4 separate regions of the Homo sapiens genome follow, and regions 2, 3 and 4 are each linked to region 1. Evidence: promoter capture Hi-C in 16 types of primary human blood cells and fetal thymus (Javierre and others, 2016). All regions are on one chromosome and are shown on one strand. The core of a region is centred on a gene start or on the middle of the fragment in contact, and the rest is flanking DNA. Distances in the headings are between cores, read along the strand shown.

Region 1 (3,294 bases), core at 795-3,294:
TGTTTCAGTCAATGCTTAGTGGGGCCGTCTCTTGGGGGCGATGAGTTGGTTCATTTCTCTGCAGCACAAGGACTGGACTTCATCCCCTTTGGGCAGTGACGCAGTGGGTGAAGGCATGTACTGGAATGAGTGTCACAGGGTCTCTGAGGAGGGTGACCAAAGGGACAGGTCTTGAAAGCGGTGTGCAACAGCAGGGCCTGGGAGTGACCAAACCCGCTGGCACCAGCTACTCCCGGGAAGGATCTGGACAGGCCCCATTCTCCCAGCTTGGAGAGGGTGAGGCAGGATTGCAATTGCAGGGCAAGATCCAGGAACAGATGCAGAGACCTTTAAAACAGGCGCACCTTCTATGGAAATCCCCAAAAGACATTCAAGGTTAGCCTGTAAAAACATTTAGGTCTGACATTACGTTTTCTGTGCCATTTTCGAACAGGTTTTTTCATGTGTTTTAAGCAGCTCCCTCCACTGTTTCTCTAAGGGTGTTTTTCCTCTTCCTTGTGGTTAATCCTTTGAAGCAACCTGGTATTTTCAATAGCAACGACTAGAGAGAAACGTCAGCATGATTTTTTTTTTCTCTCCACCTACCAATCCAGTTGTAGGAAAGATAATATAATTAGTACCCTGTTCTTCCCACACTTAACCAGCTCATTCCAGTCTCAAGGGAGAGTTGTGGGCCTGTGTTCCCAACAAAAGCAGCTCCAGAGGCCGCCCTTAAAGAGCTTAAGTGTAAAAGTCCCAATTGAAGAGCGACTAAGCCTACGTGTATTAGGGAGACTAACGACCAGCCCAAAGTGATTTACCATAACACACACTAGCTCCTCCTCCCGATAAAAGTGCGAAACTCAAACATTCAATTCAGTCTGGGCTGAGTCTGAGGCTGCCAACGGTGGCAGACCTGCAGGCCGGGCTCATCCCGGCCTGGGTGGCATATAGGGCAAAAGTCCGCCTCCGTCGGCGGCCCGCCCTGCGGGACGGCGGGCCAGCCAGCCAGCCGGTCGCCCCCACGGCCCTCGGGAACCTCGCGGAGGCGAGCAGGACCCCCCCCCCCCCCACTCGCGCCCTCGCCTCCCGCCACCTCGAGTCCAAGTTCGGGCCCGGGGGCGGCGCCTCGACGCCCAGACTCGCCGAAGGGGGTGGAGCCTGCGCTGTGACGCGGCCGCGCTGGCCGTAGACCCCGGATCCCTGGAATGTGCATTCGTTCCACGAGGCCCTAGTGCCAGCGGCGCCGAGGCACGTCTGCGCGGAGCGTGCGCACTCGCGGCGGCGGCCGCCCACGGCCCCGCGCCCACGTCACGCGCCCGCCGCGCATACCTACATAAGGCAGCCGGGGCGACTGGCGCGGCGAGGCCCCCGATGAACAGGGCGGGCTGGACGGGGCTAAGAGCGGCACTTGGTGTTCGGGAGAGGCTAGTCCGAACCGCGCTCCCTCCCCTCCAGAGGGCTCCGTGGAAAACGCGCGAGCCAGCTGGCGGCGTGTGCACGTGGTGCTGGGCTTGGGAATATTCACAGTCTCCCTAGTTAGTAAAAGGGACAGGCGGGGCGTATGTCCTTTCCAAGACAAATGCAAAGCACCAGTGACGGATTTCATGCTATGTGTCCGACATTGAGCTTTCAAGTATAACTCCTAAAAAACCAGAACTGTGAACCACGCTAGACCTAAATTCCCCATTCTCAGGAGACTGACGGAAACCAAGTGACAAAGTGTCCTTGCATAAAAGAAAAAAAATGATTTTTAGCACGATTTGGCCCAGAGGCACACCAGAGGAAAACATCCTGAGGGTGGTCGGGACAGCCGGGTGGGGCGCGAAGTGAGGGAAAGTGGAGGAAAAGCACTCGATCACTTTGCGCGGTGTTCCGAAGGGAACACCGGCGCTGCGCTGCTGCGCTGCCCCGCGGGCGGGCGGGCGCCGCGTAGCCGGCTCTCCCGGCAGCGCTCCTTCGGCGCGCGGGGGGAGGGGGAGCGCGCGCGCGGGAGGGCGGGCACGCGCACGAGGGGAGGGGGCCCGCGCAGGCGCCGTGCGAGACTGTCGAAGAATCAAGTCTGTAGAAGTGGAGCGGTCGCGGCGGCAGCAGCAGCAGCGACGGTGGCGGCGGCGGAGCTGAGGCGGGCTGGCCGCTGACGCTGGCGCTGGAGAGCGGCGACGCCAGGAGCTGTGAGAGAGCGGCGGAGCGACCCGGGGCCCGCGCCGCGCCCGAGCTCCACGCCGCCCGGCCGCCGCCACCCCGGCGCGGCATGCCCCGCCGCTCGGGCTGAGCCTGCCCCGGCGGCCGCCCCCCGCCCCCTGCCCCCCCGGCCTCCCCGCCCCCCGCCCCGCACTCCGTGCCGGCCGCCGCCGCGACCTGCTGCGCTCCCCCGCGCCCGCGCGGCCCGTCTTCGCCCCGGTCTGGAGGCCCGCCGCGGCTCCGGCCGAGCCCCCACCGCCGCGCCCGCCGCCCCGCCGCGCCGCGCCGCCCGCCCGTGCCCGGGCCGGCCGGGGGGAACTGCTGCCGCGGCTGCAGCCCCTCACCTCGCGCCCGCCGCCCCTCGTGCACCGGGGGCGCTGCGCGGGCGCCGAGCCTTCGCGGGCTTTGCCGCCGCCGCCGCCGCCTTTGCGGCCGCCGCCGCCGCTGGTGGGGGAGACGCGGGGTTGGGGGGGGAGGAGGGCGCGCGTGGTGCCGGTGGGGGGCGGCGGCGGCGCCCCCTCCTCCTCCTCCGCCTCCTCCTCCGGCGTCGCGGGCTCCTCGGACATGGCCGCGGCGGTGGCGGTGGCGGCCGCGTCCCGGCGGCAGTCGTGCTACCTGTGTGACCTGCCCCGCATGCCCTGGGCCATGATCTGGGACTTCACCGAACCCGTCTGCCGCGGCTGCGTCAACTACGAGGGCGCCGACCGCGTCGAGTTCGTCATCGAGACGGCGCGGCAGCTCAAGCGGGCGCACGGCTGCTTCCCGGAGGGTCGCTCCCCACCCGGCGCCGCGGCCTCGGCCGCCGCCAAGCCGCCGCCGCTCTCCGCCAAGGACATCCTTTTGCAGCAGCAGCAGCAGCTTGGCCACGGCGGCCCCGAGGCGGCCCCGCGCGCGCCGCAGGCCTTGGAGCGCTACCCGTTGGCGGCCGCGGCCGAGAGGCCCCCGCGCCTCGGCTCTGACTTCGGCAGCAGCCGCCCGGCAGCGAGCCTGGCCCAGCCGCCGACGCCGCAGCCGCCGCCCGTGAACGGCATCCTGGTGCCCAACGGCTTCTCCAAGCTAGAGGAGCCGCCCGAGCTGAATCGCCAGAGCCCGAACCCGCGGCGCGGCCACGCGGTGCCGCCCACCCTGGTG
Region 2 (2,940 bases), core at 176-2,675, 700 kb before region 1:
AGTTCGGTAGAAAGAATGTGCAGATTCTTATGAGTTTAAGTAGGCTTTCGGGGAGATAGATTGACTCTGGTCTTTTAAAAGTTAATTTTGAAGTTGCAGTTTTGTGATTAAGCCTTAAATCTGTTATTCTTTCCTTCTGAAATCCTTAAAAACAGAATGTTTAGTAGAAGGTGATAACCAGATTTCTTTATTCCAAGAACTCTTTGCTCTCATGTCTAACCTTTATTTTCCTGGTACTTACTGATGCAGAAGCTTCTCTTAGTAAATATAATACATCTCCTCTCTCCTAATTTGCTCCCGTCTTTCCTTGTAAGGGAAAAGTAAATTTTACTTCCAAGCCTAGAGGGTTATTTATGGATTAGGTGAACTACTGAAGATACTTATTTTCTGGATAAGCATCCATCTGTATAGCCTTTTATGTATGGCAAAAATTGTTTTCATTTCTTGATCAGAATACTGTTCTGATGTGGTGTAGTCAGCCACCTGAAGCTGATCTAGCATGGGCAGCCTAGGCAGGTAGGGCGAATGACTGTAGGAGCCCTGCTAAACCCGAGTCTCTACTCCAGAGAGGAGTTAAAAAAAGCTGAACAAGCCTGAACACGGAGGAGCCACTATTGCTGTCAAAGTTAAGTGAAGCAGCTTGGCTTATGTCTATTTCAGAATAAAAAAAAAAAATTCAACTTAGGCATGCACGGTGGGTCATGCCCGTAATCCTAGCACTTTGGGCGTTTGAGGCTGGCAGATTACTTGAGGTCAGGAGTTTGAGACCAGCCTGGCCAACATGGTGAAACCTTGTCTCTACTGAAAATATAAAAATTAGCCAGGCATGGTGGTATGCCTGTTTGGGAGGCTGATGCAGGAGAATCTCTTGAACCCGGGAAGTGGAAATTGCAGTAAGCTGAGATCGCACCACTGCACTCCAGCCTAGGTGATAGAATGAGACTGCATCTCAAAAATTCAACTTTTCACATTTTCAGTTTTATCTTGATAAGGATACCTCATCAAAGAACCCTTTTCTTTTCTTTTCTTTTCTTTTTCTTGAAGCAGAATCTTGCTGTGCATCCCAGGCTGGAGTGCAGTGGTGCAATCTTGGCTCAGTGCAACCTCCGCCTCCTAGGTTCAAACGATTCTTGTGCCTCAGCCTCCTGAGTAGCTAGGACTACAGGCATGCGCCACCATGCTCGGCTAATTTTTTGTATTTTAGTAGAGATGGGGTTTTGTAATGTTACCTAGGGTGGTCTCAAACTCCCGAGCTCAGGTGATCGCCTGCCTTGGCTTCTCAAAGTGCTAGGATTACAGGTGGGAGCCACCACGCCCAGCCCCATTTCTGTTTTTTTTAATCTGAATATTCTTTGCTAAAGTGTTGTTGTTTTTTTTAAAGGCAAGCCAGAGAGCTTTTGGCATTTAGTAAGTCACCTATTCGTGCTTTGCTCTAACTTGGAGAAATATTTTTCTAAACTAGTTCTTCTAGCAAAATTAAAGAAATTTTTATTATGAAAGCAATAAAGATTTTCTGTAAACATTAAAAATTACATAGTAGTATTCAGTGGACAGTAGAAGTCTTACTTCCTGGTAACTTGATTCAACAGTTTTTGGGTGTATTCTTCCACACCTTTTTCTTTGCACATATGAATCAAACATGAGTATTTATTTTGTTATGTTTGACTGTATTGAAATGGGCTTATGCTATGCATATTGTTCGTAATTTTCTTTTCTTTTCTTTTCTTTGAGACGGACTGTCGCTCTGTCACCAGACTAGAGTGTGGTGGCACGATCTTGGCTAACTGCAACCTCTGCCTCCCGGGTTCAAGCAGTTCTCCTGCCTCAGCCTCCTGAGTAGCTGGAACTACAGGTGCGCGCCACCACGCCCAGCTAATTTTTGTATTTTTAGTAGACAGGGTTTCACCATGTTGGCCAGGCTGGTCTTGATCTCTTGAGCTCGTGATTTGCCTGCCTCGGCCTCCCAAAGTGCTGGGATTACAGACGTGAGCCACCATGCCTGGCCCATAATTTTCTTTTACATTCTTCTATATCAGTACATATTACACAAGTCTGTGTCATTCTTCTTGATGGCTTTAGTAAGATTTTATTTGCATTCAACATGTTATTTTTTCTACAACCAAATAATTTATATAGGGCACCGGTATGTTTCTTTAAGTTTTGCAGGTATGTAGCAGTGCTTAGTATTCAGTAGGTACTGTTTTTGTTTGTTTGTTTGTTTGTTTTGTTTTTTGTTTTTGAGACAGGGTCTTGCTCTGTTGCCCAGGCTGGAGTGCAGTGGCACAGTCTTGGCTCACTGCAACCTCTGCCTCCCGGGTTCAAGAGATTCTCATGTTTCTGCCTCCCAAGTAGCTGGGACTACAGTCCCGTGCCATCACACCCAGCTAATTTTTGTATTTTTATTAGAGACAGGGTTTTGCCACGTTGGCCAGGCTGGTCTCAAACTCCTGACCTCAAGTGATCTGCCTGCCTCGACCTCCCAAAGTACAGGTGTGAGCCACTGTGCCTGGCCTTCAGTAAGTATTGTTAACTTATTTGGATGCCTAGTACTAGTAGGTGGCAAATAGTCCCAGTACCTATTATATATACAAAGCTTCTTATAGTCCTATGAATTATTATTATTATTATTATTATTATTATTATTATTATTATTATTGTTTTGAGACAGGGTCTTGCTCTGTCACCCAGGCTGGAGTGCACAGTACAATCACGGCTCACTGTAGCCTTGACCTTCTGGGCTCAAGCGATCCTCCCACCTCAGCCTCTCGAGTAGTTGGGACTACAGGTGTGGGTCACCATAGGTTGATTTTTTATATTTTCTAGAGATGGGGTCTCACTATGTTGCCTAGGCTGGTCTTGAACTCTTGCCCTGTGAATTATTGCAGCCACCAACTGTTAAATATCATTGCATGACATTGTTACTAAAAGGTAATCTATGAG
Region 3 (3,155 bases), core at 346-2,845, 550 kb before region 1:
GGTTTGAGGATTTTATTGAATTAGTAGAATTGACCTATGTCTACTTCTGGTCACCTAAACTAGACTTTACTAAGTTAGTTTACAATTGACATATTAAGATGGTATGTTTTTCTTTTCTTTTTTTTCTTTTTTTGAGACGGAGTCTCACTCTGTTGCCCCAGGCTGGAGTGCAGTGGTGCAATCTTGGCTCACTGCAACTTCTGCCTCCCAGGTTCAAGTGATCCTCCTACTTCAGCCTCCCGAGTAGCTGGGACTACAGGCACGTGCCACTGCACCCAGCTAATTTTTTGTATTTTTAGTAGAGAGGGGTGTTTCACCGTGTTAGTCAGGATGGTCTCGATCTCCTGACCTCGTAATCTGCCCGCCTTGACCTCACAAAGTGTTGGGATTACAGGCATGAGCCACCGCGCCCACCCAAGATGATACGTTTCTTAACGGTGTTCTCCAAAACGTTTTTTTTCCTACTGAAAAAACTTTAGAGTGGGGTCTTGTTAATTTCTTTTTTTTGTTTGTTTTGTTTTGTTTTAGACAGAATCTCGCTCTGTCGCCCAGGCTGGAGTATAATGGCGCCATCTTGGCTCACTGCAACCTCTGCCTCCCGGGTTCAAGTGGTTCTCCTGCATCAGCCTCCCGACTAGCTGGGATTACAGGCGCCCGCCACCATGCCTAGCTAATTTTTGTATTTTTAGTAGAGATGGGGTTTCACCATGTTGGCCAGGCTGATCTCAAACTTCTGACCTCAGATGATCCACCCACCTCGGCCTCCCAAAGCGCTGGGATTACAGGCGTAAGCCACCGCACCCGGCCTCCTTTTGTTTTTTTGAGACGGAGTTTCGCTCTTGTTGCCCAGGCTGGAGTGCAAATGGCGCAGTCGCTGATCTGAAACTCCTGGGCTTGCATTCCTTCCGTCTTGGTCTCCCAAAGTGCTGGGATTATAGGCGTGAGCCACCTTGTCCCACCATGTCCTCATATTTTAAAAAACTCTCAAAGCAGTAAGTGATCTCTAAATGGTTAAAAACAGCACTGAACAGCAATGAAGATAATTTTAAAACTATCTGCAACCACAGCTGCTTTCGCAGTCTGTTTTCTTCTATAAGTATCTGCTACCTAGCTGGGCACAGTGGGTCATACCTGTAATCCCAGCACGTTGGGAGGTCAAGGCGAGCGGATCACCTGAGGTCAGGAGTTCGAGACCAGCCCGACCAACATGGAGAAACCCTGTCTCTATTAAAAATATAAAATTAGCCAGGCATGGTGGTGCATGCCTGTAATCCCAACTACTCGGGAGGCTGAGGCAGGAGAATCGCTTGAACCTGGGAGGCGGAGGTTGCAATGAGCCAAGATCGTGCCACTGCACTCCAGCCTGGGCAACAAGAGTGAAACTCCGTCTCAAAAAATACACAGAATAGAATTCTATAATTCTAGAAATATAGAATATAATTTCTTCACTGGACTGGATAGAACAGATTTTTGAGTTGTATCGCATGCATGTATGGATAAGCTTTCTTCATCTTTGTGAAATACCAGAAGATCAAGATTATGGGAAACCAAAATAAGGGGCCCAGTAATCAAAACCCAGGGCCGAGCAGTTGAATATTGTGGATTTTTTTCATAAATTTCTCTGAAGGGGGAAGTAAAAGTCACATATATTCCCAGTCAACTTGGTTGAGTAGCTTTCAAAAAGCTTAGGCTGTCCCCAAAAGACTCAAAGTCAAATCCTGGCTGGATGCAGTGGCTCACGCCTGTAATTCCAACCCTTTGGGAGGCCAAGGCAGGAGGACTGCTCAAGCTCAGGAGTTCAAGACCGGCCTGGGAAACACAGTGAAACCCCAATCTCTATTTAAAAAAAAAAAAAAAAAAAAAGGCCAGGCGCGGTGGCTCACACCTGTACTCCCAGCACTTTGGGAGGCTGAGGTGGGCGGATCACAAGGTCAGGGGTTCGAGACCAGCCTGGCTAACATGGTGAAACCCGGTCTCTACTAAAAAAATACAAAAATTAGCTGGGCATGGTGGCATGCACCTGTAATCCCAGCTACTTGGGAGGCTGAGGCAGGAGACTCACTTGAACCCGGGAGGCGGAGGTTGCAGTGAGCTGAGATCGCGCCACTGCAGTCCAGCCTGGGCGACAGAGCGAGACTCTGTCTCCAAAAAAAAAAAAAAAATTAGCTGGGCATGGTGCTGCTGCTTGCAGTTCCAGCTACTCCGTGGTGGGAGGATGGCTTGAGCCCAGGAAGTCAAGGCTGCAGTGCGCCGTGATCTCACCACTACACTCCAGTCTGGGTGACAGAGCAACACCTTGTCTGAAAGAAAATAAGAACAAAGTCAAATCCTATTTTGCCACTCAAACTATTGGATGATTTAACTAGTAATCTTTTATTACCCTGAGAGTCAATTTAACAAATATTCACTATGTACAGCTAATAGAGACACAGCATACATGATGAATAAAACATAATCCTTACTGTCTTGCCTTTACATCTAAAGAGACTGTAACTAACACTAAAGCAGACCAAAAATGATTATAGTAAGTACCATGGGGGCTTGGGAAAATATCCCTATTGTAAATAGCAAAGAATTTTTTTTTTTTTTTTTTTGAGCCAGGGTCTGCCGCTTAGGCTGGAGTGTAGTGATGCGATCACAGCTTACTGCAGCCTCGACCTTCCAGGGCTCAAGGGATCCTCTTGCCCGAGCCTCTCAAAGTGCTGGGACTACAGGCGCCGAGCGCGAAGGTGCCCGTCTAATTTCTTTTCTGTAGAGAATAAGTCTCGCTAGATCGACCAGGCTGGTTCAAACTCCTAGTCCTCACGCAATCCTCCCACTTCGGCCTCCAAATGTGTTAGGATTACAGGCGAGCCACCGCACCTGGCTGCAAAGAAATACTAAGTTAGACAGTATCTGAGGTAGGCCTTGAAGGATGGACATTATTTTGCAGAAGGGGAAAGAGGAGGGCAATTACAACAGAGGGGACAGGAATAACAACTGTAGAGGCAGTGGAGAAAGCAGGCTAGAATGTCAGGGGCTGGAGGGAGATGAGTCTGGGAAGACGGGCTGAGAACACCTTGAAGCGTTTTGAATGCCAAGTATCTACTTTTCCAGGTAGAATAGCAGGTCCGCATTACAATCTTTCGAATTGTATGTTGACGTGACTCGTTAGA
Region 4 (2,831 bases), core at 238-2,737, 730 kb before region 1:
TTTTTTTTGGAGATGGAATTTCGCTCTTGTCACCCAGGCTAGAGTGCAATGGTGTGATCTCGGCTCACTGCAACCTCCGCCCCCTGGGTTCAAGCGATTCTCCTGCCTCAGCCTCCCAAGTAGCTGGGATTACAGGCACCTGCCACCACACCTGGCTAATTTTTGTAATTTTAGTAGAGACAGGGTTTCACTATGTTGGCCAGGCTGGTGTCAAACTCCTGACCTCAGGTAATTCACCTGTGTTGGCCTCCCAAAATGCTGGGATTATGGGTTTTTTTGTTTGTTTGTTTGTTTGTGGAGATGAAGTTTTGCTCTGTCACCTAGGCTGGAAAGCAATGGCACGATCTTGGCTCGGCTCACCACAACCTTCGCCTCCTGGGTTCAAGGGATTCTCCTGTCTCAGCCTCCCGAGTAGCTGGGATTACAGGTGTGCGTCACTACGCCTAGCTAATTTTTTGTATTTTTTTTCTGAGATCGAGTTTTGCTCTTGTTGCCCAGGCTGGGGTACAGTGTCACGATCTTGGCTCACTGCAACCTCCACCTCCTAGGTTCAAGCGATTCTCCTGCCTCAGCCTCCTGAGTAGCTGGGATTACAGTCGTGCGCCACTAAATCCAGCTAATTTTTTGTATTTTTAGTAGAGACGGTTTCATCATGTTGGCCAGGCTGGTCTTGAATTCCTGACCTCAGGTGATCCACCCACCTCAGCCTCCCAAAGTGTAGGGATTACATGCGTGAGCTACCGCGCCCGGCCAATTTTTTGTACTTTTAATAGAGACAGGGTTTCCCCATGTTGGCCAGGCTGGTCTCGAACTCCTGACCTCAAGTCGTCCACATGCTTTGGCCTCTCGAAGTGCTGGGATTACAGGTGTGACCCACCACGCCCGGCCTATTATTATTATTTTTGAGACAGGGTCTCGCTCTGTCACCCAGGCTGGAGTGCAGTGGCACAATCACGGCCTACTGCAGCCTTGACCTCCTAGGCTCAAGTCCCCTGAGTAGCTGGGACTACAAGAACAAGCCACCATGCCTGGCTAATTTTATTTTTATTTATTTATTTTTTGTAGAGGCAGGGTTTCGCCCTGTTGCCCAGGCTGGTCTCAAACCCCTGGGCTCAAAAGCAATCTGTCCCACTTGGCCTCCCAAAGTGCTGGGATAATAAGTCAGCCACTGCACTTGGCCTGTATCACTTAAACACATTTTTTTGAAGATGAAAAACAGAGTCTCAATGTGAAATTTCATTTTTCATTTTACTTTTGAATGTTATATAGAAAACAGTACAATATATGGCTTATTTTTGAGGTACTACAGTTTTAATATTTTTTTCCCCTCTGATGACATGCTAGTGTTTAGCCTGATGCTTTTAAGTTTCCCCCCCTTTTTTTTTTCTGAGACGGGGTCTCCCTTAATCACCCAGGCTGGGGTGCAGTGGTGTGATCTTGGCTTACTGCAGCCTCAACCTCCCAGGCTCCGGTAATCATCCCACCTCAGTCCCCCAGGTAAGCTGGGACTACAAGGGCGTATCACATGCCTGGCTAATTTTTTGTATTTTTAGTAGAGACAGGGTTTTGCCATGTTGCCCAGGCTGGTCTTGAACTCCTGGGCTTAAGCCATCTGCCCACTTCGGTCTCCCAAAGTGCTGGGAGTACAGATGTGAGCCACCGCGCCTGGCTGAGTTCCAAAATAATTTCTAGTACTGAGGCTAATCACAGAGATCTCTCAAAATTAAAAGATTACTGCTTCCTCTTTAAGATCTAAACATTATTGTCTCTCTTTTTGGAGCCCTTCTTCCTCCACTGCCAGCTTCATCTCTCCCTAATCCCACCCTTCACCTCATCTAGGGCCCCACACTAAGGCAAATAAACAAACATAAACATAAGATGACAGCAAGTATGAGAAATTTAAAAATAAAAATAATTTTCTTTACTAATTTCAGAAAATCCTTTTTTTTTTTTGAGACAGTGTCTCACTCTGTTGCCCAGGCTGGAGTGCAGTGGCGTGATCTCGGCTCACTGCAACCTCTGCCTCCTAGGCTCCTGTGACTCCCGTGCCTCAGCTGGGACTACAGGCATGCGCTACCATACTTGGCTAATATTTGTATTTTTAGTAGATACAGGGTTTCACCATGTTGGCCAGGTTGACTTCAGAAAATACTGATAGCATTATTATTATTTATTAGCAAGAGTAATATTACAACAGTATAAATGACCTGGCACACCTCTAAGTTACTTTAGTAACTCTGAAGCTCTCTGTAAAAAAATAAGTGTGTTATGTGCATAGTGCAATGTCATATTTCTTTAGTAGTATCTTTTGAGGTTGTATTCCATCATGGATCAAGAACGTACTTGAATAAAAAGGTGAGGTACCTAGTGATAATTTTAAATATGTTATCTAATGTCTTAAAACATTATTTCCAAGTAATGAGAATTAAAAAAAAGGAAGTCACAGAAGGTGGTCACAGCATAAGTAAGCATTATGGTTAAAATGTAACTGTAGGCAGTCCTTGCTTTGTAAGTAGCAGAGTAAGAGACATTCAAGCGATGCTTGTTAGACTTTTGTCAGCACTGATAACTGGCTTGCTATTAATGCCAGCCCAGTTCCAGCTAGTGTTTGTGAGCGTGTTCTAAAGGATGTCTGGCAGTAAGAGCTGGGTAGAGTGAAAGTGAAACTGTGCCATGTTTCTCACTGGGAGATACTGAAATAAGTTACTAACTGCTGGATAAATGTCACTCAAAAGCAGTCTCTTGGCTTTTTCTTAAACAGTGGGCAACCTTCCCTTTGAATTCTCCATTTCTGTCATTCCCTCATTCTTCTCATGCATTGACATTAGCAG

What was found. The method cuts DNA at HindIII sites, captures the fragments that hold promoters and counts their contacts. A CHiCAGO score of 5 or more calls a contact.
Region 2: a contact is called between a fragment that was not itself captured here and the fragment with the promoter of IRF2BP2 in region 1, in 1 of 17 cell types (activated CD4 T cells). The highest score is 6.0, in activated CD4 T cells.
Region 3: a contact is called between a fragment that was not itself captured here and the fragment with the promoter of IRF2BP2 in region 1, in 9 of 17 cell types (naive CD4 T cells, fetal thymus, activated CD4 T cells and 6 more). The highest score is 9.5, in naive CD4 T cells.
Region 4: a contact is called between a fragment that was not itself captured here and the fragment with the promoter of IRF2BP2 in region 1, in 1 of 17 cell types (fetal thymus). The highest score is 5.1, in fetal thymus.

Annotation. Positions count from the first base shown.
Region 1 is chr1:234,608,928-234,612,221 of GRCh38, reverse strand. IRF2BP2 (interferon regulatory factor 2 binding protein 2) reads left to right here and starts at 2,044. Exons shown (of 2, transcript NM_182972.3): 1 at 2,044-3,294. The coding sequence starts at 2,728. RefSeq lists silencers at 820-1,419, 1,900-2,089, 2,150-2,249, 2,630-2,709, 2,950-3,229 and enhancers at 1,670-1,769, 1,872-2,569. The HindIII fragment of the contact is 9,061 bases long and covers 1-3,294 here.
Region 2 is chr1:235,311,073-235,314,012 of GRCh38, reverse strand. The region is part of intron 2 of ARID4B (AT-rich interaction domain 4B); the gene reads left to right. Among named protein-coding and RNA genes, the nearest start is that of ARID4B, 16 kb to the left of the region's middle. The HindIII fragment of the contact is 2,341 bases long and covers 255-2,595 here.
Region 3 is chr1:235,161,698-235,164,852 of GRCh38, reverse strand. No RefSeq gene overlaps it. Among named protein-coding and RNA genes, the nearest start is that of RBM34, 2.0 kb to the right of the region's middle. RefSeq lists an enhancer at 3,150-3,155. The HindIII fragment of the contact is 183 bases long and covers 1,504-1,686 here.
Region 4 is chr1:235,336,939-235,339,769 of GRCh38, reverse strand. All of the region lies in intron 2 of GGPS1 (geranylgeranyl diphosphate synthase 1), which reads right to left. Among named protein-coding and RNA genes, the nearest start is that of GGPS1, 9.8 kb to the right of the region's middle. The HindIII fragment of the contact is 7,848 bases long and covers 1-2,831 here.